Regions from separate parts of the Homo sapiens genome. Here region 1 is linked to region 2. The links are contacts of gene promoters, found by promoter capture Hi-C in blood cells and fetal thymus (Javierre and others, 2016). All regions are on one chromosome and are shown on one strand. The core of a region is centred on a gene start or on the middle of the fragment in contact, and the rest is flanking DNA. Distances in the headings are between cores, read along the strand shown.

Region 1 (3,776 bases), core at 106-2,605, 290 kb after region 2:
CACGAGGTCAGGAGATTGAGACCGTCCTGGCTAACATGGTGAAACTCCATCTCTACTAAAAATACAAAAAGTTAGTCGGGCATGGTGGCGGGCGCCTGTAGTCCCAGCTACTCAGGAGGCTGAGGCAGGAGAATGGCGTGAACCTGGGAGGCGGAGCTTGCAATGAGCCCAGATTGTGCCACTGCACTCCAGCCTGGGCAATACAGTGAGACACCGTCTCAAAAAAAAAAAAAAAAAAGAAATAAAATTGATGCCTTTAACATTTATTTCACTTTGTTGCTGATATATAGAAATAAAATTGATTGTGAATTCAGTAAACTTGCTAAATTTATTCTATACACATAGTCATATAATTTGTGAGTAATGAGTTTTGTTTCTTTCTTTCCAAGTCTTATACCTTTTATTTATCCTTATTGCTTTACTGAAGGCTTCCAGTACATTGTTAAATAGACAAAACATCTTAATTCTTGACTTTTCTGGATTCTAAAAAGAAAGCTTTTTCTACCCTTCACCATTAAATTTGATGTTTGGTATAGGTTTTTTATAGTTAATTACATTTTATCAGATTAAGAACGTTGTCTCTTATTTCAAATTTGCCAATTATTCTTTTGATCATAGATGGATGTTGAATTTTATCAACTTTTTTTTTTGGAGACGAAGTGTCACTGTCACCGAGGCTGGAGTGCAGTGATGCGATCTCAGCTCACTGCAACCTCTGCCTCCTGGGTTCAAGCGATTCTCCTGCCTCAGCCTCCCAAGTATCTGGGACTACAGGCGCATGCCACCACGCCCGGCTAATTTTTTGTATTTTTAGTAGAGACGGGGTTTCACCGTGTTAGCCAGGTCAATTTCCTGACCGTGTGATCCGCCCGCCTCAGCCTCCCAAAGTGCTAGGATTACAGGTGTGAGCCACTGCGCCCGGCTGAATTTTATCAACTTTTTTTTGCATCCATTGAGATGATCATATGATTTTTTTCTCCTTTAACCTGTTAATGTAGTAAATTGCATTGATTGAATTTTCTAATATTAAACCAGCCTTAGAACAGTGATACTCAACTTGACTAGTCATCAGAATCACACAAATAAAAAGTCTTTTTAAAAGTCTAGATCAGCCAGGCGCGGTAACACCCGTATTCCTGTTTCTCTTTTTGTTTCATATTTTATTAAAATAAAAGAAGTAAAATAATACTGATAAAGCTGATATCCCCTCTCTTTCTCGTTTCAGTTTCATATCCTTCTTTTCTCTTTGGAAAGCTTCCCCATCCTAGTAATTTGTGTATTTCTTTATTTTGTTTTTAAGCTCAAGTTTTGTTTTTGTTTTTGTTTTTGTTTTTTTGTAGAGATGGGGTTTGGCCATATTGCCCAGGTTGGTCTCGAACTCCTGAACTTAAGTGATCCACCCACCTTGGGCCTCCCAAAATGCTAGGATTATAGGCGTGAGCCACCATGTCCAGCCTTAAGCTTAATTACTTTTAAAAAATAGGTTATACATGTACATGGCACAGAATTCAAAAGGAACAAGTTAAGTCCTACTTCTGCATCTAGCTACCCATTTTTCCTCTGCAGAAGTAACCACCAACACTGGTTTTTGTGTCCTTTTGGAAATATCCAACATCTGTCCAGATGTAGATGTGCTCTCAGTCTCTCCTCTACCGCCCAACCAGTACCATGCTCTATAGACTGCTCTCCACTCAACTGAGTCCATGTAACATGACAACATTGGACATCATTCCATTTCAATGCACATCCTGTCATGCACCCCAGAAGGAGATTTTGGTTAACAATGGACCACATGTGATGGTGTTCCCTTAAGATTATAATACCACATTTTTACTGTAGCCTTTCAATGTTTAGATATGTTTAGATACACTGATACTCACCGTTGTGTTACAGTTGCCTGCAGTATTCAGTATAGCAACATGCTGTACAGGTTTGCAGCCTAGAAGCCATAGGTTATACTGTATCAGCTAGGTGTGCAGTAGGCTATACCATCCAGGTTTGTGTAAGTACACTCTGATGTTCACACAAAGATGACATTGCCTGATGACACATTTCACAGAAGATATCCTCATTGTTAAGCAACATGTGACTATATCTCAACCCTGAATAGTGTTCTATTATAATGGTGTACATTATTTTACTTGGTTGGTCTCCTATTGATGGATATGGATTCAAGCTGTTTCTACTTTTTTGCTATTGCAAAACAGTGCTGCAATGAATAATCTATATTATCTTTGTGAACATGTGAAGTAGAAGTACTAGTATAAAATTTTGGTAGATAATGCCAAAGTGATCTCCACAAGTGTTTACTAATTTTTATTCCTACCAACAAATATAAAAGTGCCAGTTTATCCCTACACTCTTTATAGTACGGTATTTTCTTTTCTTTTTTTTTTTTTTTTTGAGATAGAGTTTTGTTCTGTCACCCAGACTGGAGTGCAATGGCGATCTCGGCTCACTGCAACATCCGCCTCCTGGATTCAAGCAATTCTCCTGCCTCAGCCTCCCAAGAAGCTGGGATTACAGGCGCCCACCACCACACCTAGCTAATGTTTGTAGTTTTTTAGTAGAGACGGGTTTTCACCATGTTGGCCAGGCTTGTGTAGAACTCCTGACCTCAGGTGGTCCACCTGCCTCGGCCTCCCAAACTGTTGGGATTACAGGCGTGAGCCACCACCATGCTCAGCCTTCTTTATGTTTTTAAAGGCCATTAAATGGCCTTGAGTCCAGGAGTTCAAGACCAGCCTGAGCAACATGGTGAAACCTTGTCTCTACAGAAAAATACAAAAATTCACCAGGTGTGGTGGTGTGAGCCTGTAGTCTTTGCTACTCAGGAGGTTGAGGTGGGAGGATTAACTGAACCTGGGGAGCTGAAGGCTGCAGTGAGCCGTGATTATGCCACTGTACTCCAGCCTGGGCAACAGTGTGAGACCCTATCTCAAAAAATAAAAAAATAAAAAAAACATAAAGAGATGTTCGACCTCACTCTTAATAATACAAATGTGGAATAAACTACAACGAAATATTCTTTTTTTAAACTTTTATACTTTTTATCACAGTGATAAAGATCAAAACATTTGAAAATGTGATCTGTTATTTGTCTTTCGCCTGTGTGTCTATAGAATTATGCAATTTTTACTGATTTGGAGGAGCTTTGTGCATATAAGGAAATTAGCTCTTGTGATAAGTATTGAAAATACATTTTTTCAGTATCTTACTTTTCTTATGATTTTTGTATCGATTTTTCTGAAGTCTTTTGTTTAAATCTTTTATTTCATGATGTGTAGGCTTTGTGTCATTTCAGAAGGCCTTCTCCACTCCAAGGTTTAAAAAATCATTTCCTGGCCAGGCGTGGTGGCTCACGCCGTAATCCCACTTTGGGAGACCGAGGCGGGTGGATCACGAGGTCAGGAGATCGAGACCATCCTGGCTAACACGGTGAACCCCCGTCTCTACTAAAAATACAAAAAAAAAATTAGCCGGGTGTGGTGGCGGGCGCCTGTAATCCCAGCTACTCGGGAGGCTGAGGCAGGAGAATGGCGTGAACCCAGGAGGCGGAGCTCGCAGTGAGCCGAGATCACATTACTGCACTCCAGCCTGGGCGACAGAGCAAGACTCCATCTCAAAAAAAAAAATCATTTCCCATCTTTTCTTCTAAAACTTTAATTTTTAGAAAAACAATGTAGTTATTTTTTTATCCATCTGGACTTTTATGTAAGAAATGGGGTAAAGCTCCACCTTATTTTTTCCCCAGATAATTTCTTAGTTGTCCTTGA
Region 2 (3,820 bases), core at 607-3,106:
GTCAGAAAGGCCACAACTTTTGGAGAATGTGCTCAGGGAAGGACAACTGCTCCCGCCCCCAACCCTGAGCACGGTTTTCCAGGCTTGTGACAGGGGTTCCTGGGGGCTCCCACATTGGGTGGGGTGGGCTTCAAAAGTGGGACTTGGCTGCATTTTCTGAAGGGTGTGAGAAATGTGCTGGCAAGGCCCCTGCTAACTTTGAACACACCAGATCCAGTGAAGACAGCCTGTCCCTGCTTCTAGAAGACACTATGTCCAGGAAAGAGGGACGGGGCACCTCTGAGCTCTGGCCTGGGGTTAGGGGCGGCCACTTTCACCTTTTCACTTTGATCCTTCTCCTGCAGCCCAGAAAGTAAAGGCAGGAGGGGAAGAGGCAGACATAGGTCCCTCCTCCAGGCAGGGATGGGCAGGGAAGTTGAGGGTCTGGAGCGGAGGCAATAGGAACAGAGAGAGGAGGAGGGAGAGGGATGGGTCTTTCCCACCATGGCAGCTCATTAGTGAGGCCAGGCCTGGAGTGGCTTAAAAGGGTTTCTCACAGACACTAGGCCTGTGAGACAGGGGAACAATGTCACCCACTGTCACCATCAAAGGCAGAGGGGATTCTAGGCTAAAATTGAACTTGCTTTGTCCCAAGTTCCCTGGCTTGGTTAATGCCATCACACATACCCAGTTACTTAAGCCAGAAAGCTGGGGCTCAGCTCCCCTATTTTGTTGCCTGAGTTGTCCCCTAATACATCCCCCCCTTCTCCTCTCTCCACCATCTCCATTCAGAAGGCTGAAGACAAAGCGTCCCTGCCTCCATCTGTGCCCCTTCTCTCCACTCGACCTTTCTGAATCACACAGCCGAAGTCTCCCAGGAGCAAGTCCCGCTGGGATGGATCACAAGCACCGCCCACCTTTCCAGCCCCGCTACTTCTGGCTTATATCAGGGATTCTAACTCAGTTCCCGCACCCTGGGCGAATACTGGCCCTCAAACCCCAGGTGCCCTTTCCCATCTCCGTCCCTCTACTGGGGATCCTGTCACCCGGAATGGCACCCGGTCTCAGTCCTTCCCAAGCACACAGAGGGCGGCCACGATGGGCGTCTCAGCATCTGAAACCTTCTACCCAATCTAGACTCCCGTGGGGCCTCATCCTGCTGCCCAGGGCCCCTCCTCCCAGGCCACTCCTCCAGTTCTGCTTAAGTAGGCAGGCAGGATATGGGAGCCCGGGAGAAGCTGAATCCTCTGGGACCCCTAGGTGAAGCTAGGGCCAGCCTCGCCTGGAGAGACCTGCAGAAAGAGCTCCGAGTGGCACAAACTTGGCTGGTCCCCAAGGAATTGTCCCGGGTTCCCCTCTTAGCCTCCCCTGGCCCCGTGCCGGCACCGAGCCCTCCATTCCCGCCTGTCCTGCTCCGGGGAGGGCCAGACACAGATGCAAAGTCAGCTTCCACAGCGGGCCCCTTTTCTCCCCCTCCTTCGTCAAGACAAATAATTAACTTCAGACTCCCAGATGCCAGGGCAGCCGCACTCTCTCCCGCCGCCGGCTGCAGGAACCGCCCCCCTCTCCTGAACCCCCTGCTTTGGCCGTGGTCTTCCCCACCCTGCTCGCTCCCCCGACGGGGAGGACGGAGCTGGCCAGGGAGGCGCGCGAACCTCAGGCAGGGCTAAGAGCAGAGCCCCCAGCCCCTCTCGGCCCCCTCAGGCCGGGCTGATAGGAGGGAGGGGGCGCACCTGGCCGGACCCCAAGCCTCCCGCACCTGGACTCACCTTCCGCGCCCGCGGCCAGCGCCAGGGCCCCGAGGTGCAGGAGAAGGGACAGCGCAGCGGCCCCGACCCCGGCCATGCTAGCTCCGCCTCGCTCGGCTCGCCGTCTGTCGTCGCGGCTCAGCAGGCGCTGGGGAAGGCGGGGTGGGGACACACAGGCCGCTCCCACCCAGGCTTTGTTCAGGGAGGGCTCAAACCCCCCACCGCGCGCGCCTTTCCCATGCACACCTCCACCCGCCCCGGGCCCGGCCGGTCCTGACCCCAGAGAGCAGCTCCAGCTCGCAGGAAGCCCAACGGGGGTGTAGGCCTTGTCTCCGCTTAAGATCCAGGAGGAGACCCTGAAAAGAAAATAAACCCAAGTCCACCCCTCTCGGGATCCTAGAGAGTCTCCCTGCCCTTTTAGGTTACTCCATCGCCCTAGGGTTTCCAGATCGATTTTTCCTCTCTCTCACAAGTTTACAGAAGAAGCAGACTGAGCTGGGTTTAGATCCCTGCTCAGCCAATTCCATGTGGCCTTAGACCACTAACTTCTCTGTGCCTCAATTTCCCTATCTGTAAACTGGGGATCACCACATCTACTTTATAGACTTGCAGTGAGCATTAAGTGAGATTATATAAGTAAAGAATTTAGAGTCGGTAGAGAGATGGTAAATGCTCAGTAAATAACAAATAATAATAATAAGAACTCCTGATCTCTGAAATCATGGACACGACCAGTGTTTTCCTCTCTCCCCTATAAGTTTCTTTCCTGAACTCCACTCAACACCCCTACCCACCCCAGCAGTCCCAGGCTTGGCCCCAAATGCCAAGGCCGCCCTTCACTGGCTGGTCTCAGCCCCATTTCCCACTCCTGAGCTCAGGCCTGGCTGTGGGGTGAGCCTGGGTAGGGGGCAGGGCTGGGCCCTGGGCTCAGCAGGCAGAGGGGGCCAAAGGGAGGAAGTGAGGACAGCCGTCCCTGTGGGCCCACAGGCTGGGAAACTCCTCCTTGAAGCTGGGAAGCAGAGGGTTGGGTCTCACAGGCGAAGCTCACAGGCAAAAAGGAACATTGAGGGCGGAGCTGTGAACCCTTCCAAAGCTCTCCCTCCCTGTCATAAAGACCAGAAGTCGGAAGCCACCCCTCCCCCTAGACCAGGCAGGGACTGAGGTCTCCCCAGCCCACTCTCCACCAAGCTTAAAGCTTCAGTAAGGAGACGGCAGCTTCTCTGCCCCAGAGTCTGGGCCCATAGTGGACCTGAGCCTTTGCCACAGGGGGCAGGGAGGCTGCAATGCCACGCTAAGACCTGGCCTCAGTGCCTGGAGCTGAGGTCACAGAGGAAAGCCAGGGCCAGCCAGCCAGAAGAGGAACAAGGAAGCGGCAGCACTATTCCTGGCAGGTTTAAGGAAGGTGGCTTTCATTGACCGGGTGCCTCTGGAAAGCAAGTCCTCTGAGGGGCTGGGTAGTGGGACGGTTCAGAGCACAGATTCTGGCAGGGTTGCCAGGGCGCATCCTGGAGCTCTTGCTTTCTGCTCTGGGGCCTCTGGCTGGTCACTTCACTTTTGGTGGCTGATTTTTCTGAACTGTGACTGGAGCTCTAACAGCACCCACCTCATGGAGTGTTTGTAAGGATTAGTAATGCATGGTGCTTGGCACAGAGGTATGAGCAATTTTTACTTCCCTTATGAAGAATGGGGGCACCTCCATCCCCATTTTACAGAAAGAATCAGAGAGAATCAGGGTGAGCAGCTCTAAACCACACTGGGAGGATGCACAGGGCTTCCCTCGCCCCACAGTCCCCTTCCAGTCCCTTGTGTCTTAGCCTCTGCCACTGAGCCTGGCCCCAGTCGGCCCTCATATCACATTCCCAGGGAGGGACACTGTCCTGACACAGAAAAGGTCCTCCAACCCCTGGGGTGCGGTGGGGTGGGGAGGCTGGGCCTTCACTTCACCCCCAAGGCAGGTGTTTGTAGTGTCTGATTCTGTGTGTGTGTGTCTGGGTGTGGCACATTTGTGTGTGTGTGTGTGTGTATGTAATGTGTGTTTGGCTGGAGGTGGGGGCTGAGGCTGGGGAGGCACTTTTGGGACTCAAGGGACCTTG

Evidence for each region. The method cuts DNA at HindIII sites, captures the fragments that hold promoters and counts their contacts. A CHiCAGO score of 5 or more calls a contact.
Region 1: a contact is called between a fragment that was not itself captured here and the fragment with the promoter of KCP in region 2, in 1 of 17 cell types (total B cells). The highest score is 7.9, in total B cells.

Annotation. Positions count from the first base shown.
Region 1 is chr7:129,196,797-129,200,572 of GRCh38, forward strand. All of the region lies in intron 1 of SMO (smoothened, frizzled class receptor), which reads left to right. Among named protein-coding and RNA genes, the nearest start is that of SMO, 10 kb to the left of the region's middle. The HindIII fragment of the contact is 207 bases long and covers 1,253-1,459 here.
Region 2 is chr7:128,908,853-128,912,672 of GRCh38, forward strand. KCP (kielin cysteine rich BMP regulator) reads right to left here and starts at 1,857. Exons shown (of 40, transcript NM_001366122.1): 1 at 1,749-1,857. The coding sequence starts at 1,824. It also overlaps the pseudogene LOC392787. The HindIII fragment of the contact is 11,148 bases long and covers 1-2,913 here.